3 separate regions of the Homo sapiens genome follow, and regions 2 and 3 are each linked to region 1. The links are contacts of gene promoters, found by promoter capture Hi-C in human tissues and cell types (Jung and others, 2019). All regions are on one chromosome and are shown on one strand. Each heading gives the region's core, a stretch centred on a gene start or on the middle of the fragment in contact. The rest is flanking DNA. Distances are from core to core; before and after follow the strand shown.

The links. The method cuts DNA at HindIII sites, captures the fragments that hold promoters and counts their contacts. A contact is called where the count stands out against the background at its distance.
Region 2: a contact is called between the fragment with the promoter of ZNF691 here and the fragment with the promoter of CDC20 in region 1, in 1 of the 25 tissues and cell types used here (hippocampus).
Region 3: the fragment with the promoter of SLC6A9 here is called in contact with the fragment with the promoter of CDC20 in region 1 in 1 of the 25 tissues and cell types used here (psoas muscle).

Annotation. Positions count from the first base shown.
Region 1 is chr1:43,357,026-43,360,515 of GRCh38, reverse strand. It overlaps CDC20 (cell division cycle 20), which reads right to left and starts at 1,535. Exons shown (of 11, transcript NM_001255.3): 1 at 1,510-1,535; 2 at 1,120-1,349; 3 at 878-1,026; 4 at 695-791; 5 at 419-547; 6 at 127-323; 7 at 1-17. The coding sequence starts at 1,300. It overlaps CDC20-DT (CDC20 divergent transcript), which reads left to right and starts at 1,843. Exons shown (of 4, transcript NR_183650.1): 1 at 1,843-1,966; 2 at 2,408-2,474; 3 at 2,616-2,713. RefSeq lists silencers at 1,347-1,496, 1,687-1,796 and enhancers at 1,239-1,747, 2,087-2,146, 2,258-2,766. The HindIII fragment of the contact is 17,818 bases long and covers 1-3,490 here.
Region 2 is chr1:42,844,776-42,848,723 of GRCh38, reverse strand. It overlaps ZNF691 (zinc finger protein 691), which reads right to left and starts at 2,111. Exons shown (of 4, transcript NM_001242739.2): 1 at 2,067-2,111. ZNF691-DT (ZNF691 divergent transcript) reads left to right here and starts at 2,310. Exons shown (of 5, transcript NR_186083.1): 1 at 2,310-2,467. ERMAP (erythroblast membrane associated protein (Scianna blood group)) reads right to left here. Exons shown (of 12, transcript NM_001017922.2): 12 at 3,733-3,948. RefSeq lists enhancers at 2,075-2,144, 2,305-2,574. The HindIII fragment of the contact is 6,395 bases long and covers 1-3,423 here.
Region 3 is chr1:44,029,141-44,032,943 of GRCh38, reverse strand. SLC6A9 (solute carrier family 6 member 9) reads left to right here and starts at 1,482. Exons shown (of 14, transcript NM_001024845.3): 1 at 1,482-1,638. It overlaps LOC107984948 (a long non-coding RNA gene), which reads right to left and starts at 2,530. Exons shown (of 2, transcript XR_007066054.1): 1 at 2,395-2,530. LOC124904168 (a long non-coding RNA gene) reads left to right here. Exons shown (of 4, transcript XR_007066055.1): 4 at 217-401. RefSeq lists silencers at 1,941-2,010, 2,331-2,880 and enhancers at 1,752-2,348, 2,990-3,547, 3,548-3,803. The HindIII fragment of the contact is 16,348 bases long and covers 1-3,803 here.

The DNA of each region.
Region 1 (3,490 bases), core at 286-2,785:
TGCTGCACATCCCATAGCTAGAGAGAGAAGCCCACTAGGATCAGAGATTGGGACTTGGCATTAATATCCTCCAGCTGTGCAAGCCCATTGGGACTGGTGAGAATGACAGCACTGGACACGTCTCACCTGCACCTCAGCACTGCTGGTGCCCACAGCCAAGTAGTTGCCCTCTTTGATCCAGGCCACAGAGGATATATATTCCCCAGGCTGCTCCATTTGCAAAAGCTGCAGGATGTCACCAGAGCTTGCACTCCACAGGTACACACTGTTGTCCAGTGCCACGGCCAGTACATTCCCAGAACTCCAATCCACAAGGTTCAGGTCTGTCAGAGGTGGAGAGAAGAGCATGAGCTTCCTTGTTTGTGTGGTCCCAGGCCCTCTTTCTCCATGCATGAGGCGAGGATAAGGATGCACTTACAATAGTCATTTCGGATTTCAGGCGCATCCAGGATACGGTCTGGCAGGGAAGGAATGTAACGGCAGGTCTTCCGGCTGGAGCCAGGAGTGGCCTTTTGGCTGTAGAGTACTTTCAGTCTGTTCTGATAACCTGTGGCAACGGAGTGAGTCTAGACGCTGGGAAAATCAACACCTCCCTTGCCCTCAATCTTAGATAGGAAGAGGAGACAGATATCTGTGCTCAGCCCTGGAGATGAACTGACACCTCCCTCCAGGAACCAGGAACTTCGGGTCTTACCCTCTGGCGCATTTTGTGGTTTTCCACTGAGCCGAAGGATCTTGGCTTCCTCTACATCAAAACCGTTCAGGTTCAAAGCCCAGGCTTTCTGATGTTCCTGGCATAAAGGGTAGTGAAGGAGCAAGATGGTATTATCCAAAGAACAGTCAGGTCCCGTGCCTTAAGCCCCTCTGGGACACATACCTTCTTGGTGGGCGTCTGGCTGTTTTCAGGCTGGTTCTCCTTGCTCAGGAGGAAGCTGGCCACCTCCATCTGGGCAGCACTGCGATGGGGGATATAGCGGTCACCGCCAGGTTTGCTAGGAGTGGTCTGAACCTTGGAACTGGATTTGCCTGGGGCGGAGAAAGAGAAGACAGTCTGACCAGGCTCCCCAGGGAGAAAGTATGAAGGCTGCTCTCACTCAGTTCCTTTGGCACCTCACTGACCAGGAGTTCGGCCCGGAGTCCTGCCGGCGCTGTGGGATCGGTTGGCGGCCCGCATGGGTGAGGGGGCCGGGCCTGCGGCTTCCTTGGCTTTGCGCTGCCAGCGCGCAGGGGGTGCATTGGGGATGGGTGCATCCAGCTGAAGCAGCGAGTGCAGGTCACTCTCGAACGCGAACTGTGCCATGGGAGCGCCCGCAGGGGGAGGGGTCCTTGCAGTTGGTGCCTACGGAGCCCTGGAGGAAAGGAGGCGACGGTGCTCAGGGGACAGAAAGGGACCCCTTCGCTCCTGGCCGGCCACAAAATCAGGGCCACCCTCGGCTGCAGCCCCTTCCGGCCTAGCACCCCCTCCCCCTGGCCACGGCCCCACCTCGGCTCAGCCCCACCACCTCTCACCGTGCCCTCCGGAGCAGTTCCGACCGGCTTTAACACGCCTGGCTTACGCCTCTTAAACTCTCCGCTCCGAGCGCCTATTGGCTCCTTCAAAATCCAACCGTCGCAACCGTTGCCCTAGCCCATTGGCCTCTCCGGCGAAGGGGGCGGGCCTTCCGGGGAAAGTCTCAGCTATCACGAGAGTCTAGCGGCGGAGCGCGATTTGAAGGGTACGAGAGGGGCTGGGAGCCGGCGCCAGAGGACTAGTACTGGAAAGCCGGCCGGGACAGGGCGGGGCAGGGCGGGGCCGGGTGGGGCCTGCGCTGCCTCAGCGTCCTGGAGTCGTCTCGGTTCGCCCTTTTGCGTGCCTTCCACCGCCGCGAGCTCGGAATGTCTGGCCCCGGGTGCTTCAGGGTCCGAGAACCTGCAGAAGTTCACACTTAAATCCTACACGAGAGTCGTATTTATGATGCAGAACTCGGTGCAGAACCCGATGGAGTGCCCAAGGCGCTTGAGCCGTTCCTAGAAGGGGAAGGAGAGCCGCGGGCGGCAGCGGGGCAGGGGACGGAATTGGGAAGCTTGGGAGCAGGAAGAAGGCCAGAGCTACTTAGGGTACATTCCACTTTTGCTTGGCGCCGGGTAGGAACCCTGCTAGAAAGGAAGTAACGTGTGTTTGTCTCGTTTGCTGTTGTTTTACAAACAGGGAAAATGAGGTTGAAAAGGGTGAATGAATTCCTTAAGGTCAAGAAAAAGGATCGGTATTCAAACCTGCCTATCTGGAAGATAAGCTTAGACTGCCCTACAGGAGGCACTGTGGCTTATCCCCTTGGGGCTTTAAAGATGTGAGGACCTTAGAGATCCATTAGTCTAACCTGTGCGTGGTGCAGCCTCCCCACCCCGACAACAAATCCATATTTTACAGATGGAGAAACGGAGGCCCAGGGAAGGGATGTGCCCGAGGTCATACAAAGAAGTTTGTGGGAATCCAGGTCTGACTCGCACTCAATCTAGTGCTCTAATAATGACTTGAGTGAATTGTATGAATGTGCTCAGAGGTGGAGCAGCAATCATAAAAGTAATAATGGTACCATTTATGGACCATCTAACTACTGTGTTAAAACAATTTACAGGCCATGCGCGGTGGCTCACGCTTGTAATCCCAGCACTTTGGGAGGCCGAGGCGGGCAGATCACGAAGTCAGAAGATCGAGACCATCCTGGCTAACACGGTGAAACCCCGTCTTTACTAAAAATACAAAAAATTAGCCGGGCTTGGTGGCGGGCGCCTGTAGTTCCAGCTACTCGAGAGGCTGAGGCAGGAGAATGGCGTGAACCCGGGAGGCGGAGCTTGCAGTGAGCCGAGATCGAGCCACTGCACTCCAGCCTGGGCAACAGAGCGATACTCTGTCTGAAAAAAAAAAAAAAAGTTTACATACATTATCGAGTTCAATCCTTAATCCCATAAGGCAGATAGATACCCCATCTTCCCTTTACAGAAAAAAGAAACTGGGTCAGAAAGATTAGAAACTTGCCCAAAGGCATGCAGCCAATAATAAGTAGGGGAGCCCAGGATTCAAACTATCTGACTAATCCCTGCAATCTAAACAATACGCTATACTGTCCCAGAAAGAGGCTGGAAAAATCATTTTCAGTCATTAGCTTAAAGTCCACTCCGATGCTTACAGATAATGTTATTATCTTTGACTTGAAGCCTTTGCATTCTCTATTTCCAATTACCTTGGAAAATAAGGAATTGGATATGCTTAGGTTAGAGGTGGGGAATTCCCAGAAAACATAGAAAAGGTTGTCTCATGTCAAGTTGGTCAGGGTCTTAAATGTTAAGCTAAAGACTTTGGACTTCATCTGCTAGGCATTGTGGTACCTGTGGGGTTTCTGTGTAGGGAAGGACCAAATAAAACATCTGAGGGGGGGGATATGGCAATAATTTGCAACTTCTGGTGGTAGCTATAGAGAAGGATAAAGGGTATAGCCTCAGGGAATTTGTA
Region 2 (3,948 bases), core at 862-3,361, 510 kb after region 1:
AAAACATAAGTTCCATGAGAGCTGGTGTCTTTGTTGTTTTTTTGTTTTTTTTTTAATTTACCAATGTAACCAAAACTCCTAGAGTAGTGGCAGCCATATACAGTAGATCCTTCATAAGTATTTGTTGAATGAGTTGAATAAAACACCAGCTCTGTCTTCATGGGACACAAGTAACCATGAACTGTCTCACCCACTTTTCCTCAGCAATCTCCTGATTCCTGCCTACTTTCTCCTTTATGCAGTCACAGAATCTTGTGCTTGGCTTATAGTGGTTTGCAACTACTAGTAGAACATGTCTGTTTCTATTAGTAGTTTATAAGCAACTTGAGGAAAGGGACTGGGTCATATTAGTAATCTCCTTCTGCAGCATAAAGCTGGGTGCTCAAATGTCTTTTGAATGTATAAGTGACAGGATGTGATCTTAATTCACGCCACCATCCCATCCCCCACCCCCTGCCCTGCTCCCATCTGACCTACAGCTACAGTATCTCTACGCAATGAGCTATTCAGCCTCCACTCACTTCCGAAACTGCTATTCTGAGAACCTATAATTTACCAAGTTCCAGCTCTACCCGGGGCTGGATGCTAGGTCAATGTAAGAGCAAAAGGATTTAGGATTATGATTACCACTCAGTTTGTGATACAGTGTACTGAAACAGACCGTGAACTCCAGAAATTGTCATACAATGCAGAAGGTTAAGTTCAGGGGACAGGGGCAGGAACTGTGCCTTAGTCACCTTTGTACCCACTCCTCAGTGTCTAACACAGCACCTGGCACATTATTAACATTTTTTTAAAGCTCGAATCAAGTGCTAAGCTGTGGACTAAGGACCATATATGAATCATCTAATTTCACTTCACATCATCCTTATTTTAGAGATGAGAAAGCTGAGGCTCAGAGAAATTAAGTATCTTGCCCAAGGGCACACAGCAAGTAAGTGGCAGAACTGGGGCCTATGCCCATCACTTCAAAGTCAGTGCTTTTAACCATTATACTATTACTGAAGGAAAAAAGGAGAGAAGACGGGAAGGAAGGAAATAAAAACAGTACCACTGAAGTTCACATGATACAGATGTATCTCCCTGATGAAATCAGGGCTGAGAAGTTTCAAGGAGGAGTAGGTATTTGACCTAAGGTTTGCAGGATGGGTAAGACTGGGACTTGCAGAGATAAAGAGGCAACTACCTACTGAGAAGACAGTGCAGCTGAAGTACAGAGGCACTTTCATATCACACTGCAGAGATCTGGGGGGAAAAGGGGTCTATTGGGCTTTGTCTTCCTGGTGGCTCAGCTGCACAGAGAGAAGCAACGGTGGAAGGGGCTGAGAAGTGGAGGAGGGGCCAGGTCTAAGAAGTTAAGAGCCAAGAAGATGGGGCTAGTGATCACAGATGATGAAGGTGAAGCGCCTAGGTTAAAGGCAAGGGGCCAAGCCATAGTGCGGTATGGAGGTCCGAAGTTACAGGTCTTTGGGGCCAAGTCAAGGGCTGCAGGGAGGAAGAGGAGAGAGGAGCTATGAAAGACCAAGAGCAAGGTGCTAACAGGGTAATTGTACAGGGAAGCTAGATAACGGGTCAGAGATACAGGAGGACCAAGGAAGTCAGAGGGTCGCAGGAGACGGTCAGGGAAGAGGAAGCAAAGGCTGCCAGAAGTGTCACAGGCCAGGGCCCAAGAGCTGAGTTGTGTGTTGCGGGGCGGGGAGAAGCCAATGGCGGAGGTCCAAGGGTACAAGAGCTGGTTTCAGAGATTGCCGGCGGGCTTGGGGCCAGAGAGGTGGGAGAGGAGGAGGGGCTGATCCTAAACGTATGGTCAGCGGCAGGAAGGCTGTATACTCAAACCCAACAGAAGGGCCGGGGAATGGGTTGGGGACAGCCACCTGGCTGCGTGGGCCGGGGGCCAGGGCGAGGGTCGCGGCGGAGGGACCACAAGGCCCCTTGGCTTCCCACTCGGTCCAGGGAGCAAAGCAGCAGCATCCAGATCCTCGGTGAGAGGGAAGTGGCCGTGTACAGAGTTTCCCGCGAAGTCGTGTCCGCCTCCCCCCGCGACCTCGGGCCCAACCCGGACCCACCTCGCTCCCGCCGCTCGATCAGGGACAGCGCCGCCTCTGTAGGCGAGGGAAGGAGCTGGAGCCGGAGCCGGAACCCAGGAAGGATCCGCCCTACTACTCCAGGATTGGTTTCTTGGGATAATTCTTTATTTCCATTGGCTACCATGACTGCCACAACGCAAGCGACCTGGCAGGACCACCAATAAGCTTTGACCGCTGGCGTGGCATGCTGGGAGTTGTAGTCCTAAGGAAGCGCGTAGACTCAGAGAAAACTTGCGAAGTTTAGGATGGAGCTGAAGAGACTGGGTTCCGTCCTACGGTGGGATTTCTTTCCGTGCTCGCGCGTTCAGCCCCAAGTCTCAGGGCCACTCGTCTGGGAAGTTGTAGAATCTGTATAGCCAACCTACACAACCTCCAAGGGGGCAAGTACTCAAATTTCCTTCTTTACTTTGAGTTGGTAATCCTTGACCGTCCTGTAGACGTCCAACGAAGCCTAGAGTCTGGCACCTCACTCAAGGTTTATAACTTAAAATCAAAGGAGGGTAGAGCTGGAAGGGAGTTTAAAGATAAAATAACCCAATCTCCTTATCGGAGAAGCTAAAAGTACCCTGTTCAAGGATCAACCTCCAGGTCTTCCAGCCCCCCTGAGCAGGGATTTTCCCGGGTTCCGCGTGCATCCCTAATTAAGCCTGACACGTGTTCGTCAATCCAGACACAACAAGATCACCAAAGTATCCAGGACTAGGTCTTTTTTTTCAGGTTTTATTTTTTAAAATAATAAAAGGCTAATGAAATACGTAAACTACAGGCTTCTCGTATCTGCACAATGTTTCAGTGCAAAGAACAAGGAGCATTGCCTTCAGAGCTAGATAAACCAAGTATAAAACTCTGGCTCTACCACCTAGCCATTTGGAGTACCAACTCCCTCCCCCATAAAATCCCTGGCAGAATTACTGTGAGGATATTATATATACATACATATATTCTCATGCATGTGTATGTGTATACATATATACATATATATGTATGTATGTTTTATATAGTTGTAAGGTTATAATACATACATATATTGAGGTTATTTCTTGATGACATTAATATTCAAATCAGTAGACTGATATGTATGTACATATATACATGTATAATACACATACATGTGTATATACATATACTAATGTATACATGTGTATATACATGCATACATGTGTGAATATGTATTATACATACATATGTATATATGTGTATACATATACACGTGCATACATGCTAAATACATATACATATATATACACCTATGTAGTACAGATATGTATATACACATACATGTATACATGTGTATATGTGTATGTATGCATATGTGTGTGTATATTATATGTATATTCATGTATGTATGTGTATATGTATGCATGTATTCTGCCTCCACAAGCTGACAATGTGAGTTAGTTTTAAGATTGGGATATTCAGGAATGCATGTTTGGAACTGAATATGGTTGAGTGAAATATGTGTGCCTTATGAACACTATTTGTTTATAAATTGATAAAATAAAATACTAGAGAGCAGACTCAGGAATAAAACTATGGCTTTAGTATGAACGGTGGCTAAACCTTGCCTTGGGGGACTCAAAGCTCTTTGGAAACCAATCTCTTACCTTCCCCACAACTCCTCATTCACAATGAAAATAACAGCATACCAAAACACAAATACCAAACTTTTATTTTAAAACTGTACAAAAGCAAACAAAAAATTCCACTGAGTCACTGTGATAGTTAATCTTATGTATCCACTTAACTGGGTCACAAGATGCCCAGCTATTTGGTCAAACATTATTCTGAGTGTTCCTGTGAGGGTGTTTCTCAATGACATTAACATTCAAATCAGTAGACTGAGTAATGCAGACTGTCCTCC
Region 3 (3,803 bases), core at 233-2,732, 670 kb before region 1:
TGTACCTACACAAATACACAATCGGGGCTCAGGTGTCTGGGGGCACAGACACAACAGGTTGCCTAGATCCAGGTGTGTGTGCACACAACTCACGCAAGAAACACCTGCACTTGGCTTGTAGGAGACTAAAAATCCCAAACATGCTATACCTACTAGGTTTGGGGACAAAGTAAAAGTGAAAATAATCTCGCTGATAAGACTAAGGTGTCTTCCCAGATCTGATCAGGAGTCCAATGTGAATAGGAGACAACAGAGAGCTGTCTTTGTACTTTGGCTCTGAGGAAGGTTTGTGGAATGGACCGCGTGTGGCCTGAGAGAGCTCGCATTTCAGGGAATGCCTGGGCTTGATGCCTGTTATCTTGTTCAGTGCCTCTGATAAATTAATAAACTGGAATCTCACTCAACAATTGGTTTCACGTGAGTTTGGCATGTGTGCACTCGCTTCTTGGAGGCTGACTGTCCCAAGGAAAAAAATTAAACTGTTTCCTGGCCAGAAAATGGTGAGGACTCAGGGTCCAAAGTAGAAATTGCCTCTGTGGGCTGGGCCCCTTCCCTGAGCAGATGCCCTACTCAGGTTGGGGCAAAAACCAGTTCCTCTGACAGAACTAACTGGCCACTCTCCATGAAAGGTGGTGGCTCTCACAAGGTATGCAAATGTGGGAGGCTCATTCCAAATGCCAGCCACCACTCCCCAGAGGCAGCCTGGAGCAATGGGCTTTATATACACACACATGCATTTCCTTAGCCCCTTCTCTCTGTTTCACAGAGGAGGAAACCGAGGCTCACCATGCTCCTTTTGGCAAAGACTCTTTTTTAGCTGAGATTGTAACCCAGGTCTGTCTCACCATGGAAGGAGGAGGGATCCCAGGTTGGTGTCTGCAGCCCCTGTAACACCACCTCAAAAGTAGAGCTGACCAAGCCGGTGGTCCAGGAGGGAAATTTGAGAAAGGGCTACCCCGAGCCCTCCAGTTCCAAGGAGTAGGACCTAGGCCTTACCCAGCAATGCCCACAGTCTCTAGCGGCTCTGCTCCAAAGGGAATGGAATTTGCTCTGACTTCTCTCTAGGGGAAACGCAGGCGCAGAAGGCCAGGGGCCTGGAGGGCTAACTCCAGCCTCAGCCCCCCATAGTGCCCCAGGCCTTCTGGCTTCATTCCAGCCTAGCCCGAAGGGGCCCACATCTGCTTGCTCAAGGGCCCCAGCTGGAGGGCAGCGAGGCAGGGGCGGAGAAGGGGACTCCTTTGTGGCGCTCACTCCCAGGGGTTCGTGGGGATCAATCATCTGAAAGCTGGAGAGACTTGTAATTTTATTCCCTGGGAGGAGGAGCCTGAGAAGTCGGCACGGGAGGAGGGGATGGGATGGAGAGGGGAGGACGGCCAGGGGAGCCGTTCGGGTAGGGGAGGGACTTGGCTAGATCTCCCAAGCCTTCTCCACTCTTCAAACTTTCACCAAACTCTTAGCCCCCGCCTCCCCGAAACCAAAACACAACAGGCTGTGGAAGAGCTGCGAGCGGCGCGGCGGGGCGGGCGAACTCGGCGCGGCACAGAGCCTCGGGAGGCTGATGCAACTTTCCCTTTAAGAAAGCCACCTGGGCGCACCGCGGTGCGGACCCAGCACGCCTGGGCCGGGGGCTGCAGCATGGTAAGGGGGCTGGGGGAAGGGACGCTGGGGCCCGCGCCTCCGTCTGTCCTGCCGTCGGTCTGAGTGTTCGGCGGCTCCGCGGGGCTGAGCCCCAGGACCAGCGTGTGCGTGTGTGTGTGTGTGTGTGTGTGTGTGTGTGATCGCGCATGTATGCGGGCATCTGTGGGTAAGAGTGTGGGTGCACGCACCGGGATGTCTGTCTCGCCGCAAAGATCGGGGTAGGTGCGCGCGTCTGGGTGTCACCGCTGTCACCAAGGAGCTGAAGCGGGAGGGAGAGGGAAGTGGGGGGAGCTCCTGCGTGGGGTGGCGGGGGGGCGCCAGACGCCGGTTCGATCGGGGGCGGCGGGCGCAGGCTGTGCGGGTAGCGCCGGAGCCAGAGCGTGGCACTGTCCGTCCGAGGAGCCAGTGGTTCTGCGCTCTGGGGGCCTGCAGGGGTCGACAGTCGGCCGTGCCTGCACCCAGCGTGCGGGCTCCCGCTCGCTCCATCGCCTCTCAGCGCCCGCCAGCCTGGCTGCCTATCTGGCCCCTCCAGCCGGCCTGCCTCCCTATCTGCCCTCCCGGTGCCGGTTCCAGTGCCCGTGCGCCCGCGGGACCCGGGAAGCCGCGCGGGAGAGTCCTGGCGCACTCAGCCTCTCTTTGTCCGCGCTCTGGCCGCGGCTTTGGGAAGGGACTGCGAGCGAGCCGGGAGTTCTCTGGGGGTTGCTACCCTGGGAAGAATCCGTGCCCTCCCCACCCCAACCCTCATTACCGGCACACCTAGGGCGGGGCCGGGCGGCCGCAGGTGAGGGCAGGGGCCTAGCAGCCCTGGAGAGCCCACCCCCGGCCGGCGCTCCGCACCCGGCAGCCACTGCAGATCTCGAGCAGGCGGCGGGGCCGGGCCGGGCGGGAGAGTGGGGCTTGCCCGGAGGGCCGGGAGGGGCCGGTGCCGGCCCGGGGGCGGGGCCGTGGGGCGGGGACCTCGGCGCCCCGGTACTTTTCCACCGCAGGGGCCGGGGGCGGGGCCGCCGCCTCCACGCCAGCTTAGGCCCACACGTGGCGGCTGATGTAACGCCCGTGCCCCCACATCTCTCTCCCCGATTAAAGCGGACGCGCCCCACTTCGAGGAACCGGGACGCTGCGGGCGGTGCCGCTGCTCCCAGACCGACCGCGCCCCTGCCCGCCGGCCGGAGGCCTCCGCGCCTCGGGCCGGCGGATACTTAAAGGAGCCGCACCCCCTTTCGGGCCTGCTCTCCGCAAGCCACACCCCCTCGCGGATCACTCTTAAAGGAGACGGGACGCTTGCTCGCTGACAGCTTCCGCACAAAGCGCGGTCTATTTCTCCGCTGAAAGGAGCGTGAGGGTGCGGCCGTTGGGAAATAAAGGCTGCAGGGCGAGGAGTGGGGAAAGAGAAAAACCTGAAAGGTTAAAGACTGCCAAAGTGAGGGAGCATCAGAAGGTTGGAGAGTAGTGGGTGAGGGGACTGGTTCTAGGGACTAATGGGCGACACTGAGCATGCCCAAGTGTTTCCAAGGACCGCAGAGAAAACGCCCCCTTTACTTGGCCTATGCGGCGACTGCGGCTGTACCTGCTCAGTTCCCGGCTCTGGGGACACAGAAGAATCACGCCTCTGCCCTGGTAGAACTCTCCATCTAGTGGGGAGCCAGACTTGGGCACAAGGAAGCATGCCTCAATTGCTACGTGTGGCAAGCGTGGGGGTACAGTAGGAAGGCTGACAGCAACGGGGAGGACCTAGGAAGGCTTCATGAAGATAATAGCATTGGGATAGGTTTTGAGGATGGGTAGGATACATACAGGTGGAAGTGGAGACAAGGGTGCTCAAAAAACATGGAACGGGTGCCGGGGCAAAGGCATGAAGCAGGAGCCCTCTGCAAGTGCTGGGTAGTCTCACGTGGCGGCAGATGGCCGCAGGCTGCTGACCTGGGCTCCCAGGTAGAACTAAGGGCTGTTTCCTGCTCCCACAGCTCCTCCACTTCCTCCAACACAGTGAATGGAAATTATGCTTCTTCCTCTGTCTACTAAACTGTGCGGTCCTTCAAGCTAGGAAAAGAGCCTGTCACCTTTCCATCCCCCGTGAGGACTCCAGGGCTTGGCCAAGATGGACCGTTAAAACTGATTGACCTGACAGTCCTGTCTGATACTCAGCGGTGAGACTGTCAAGGTGGGCC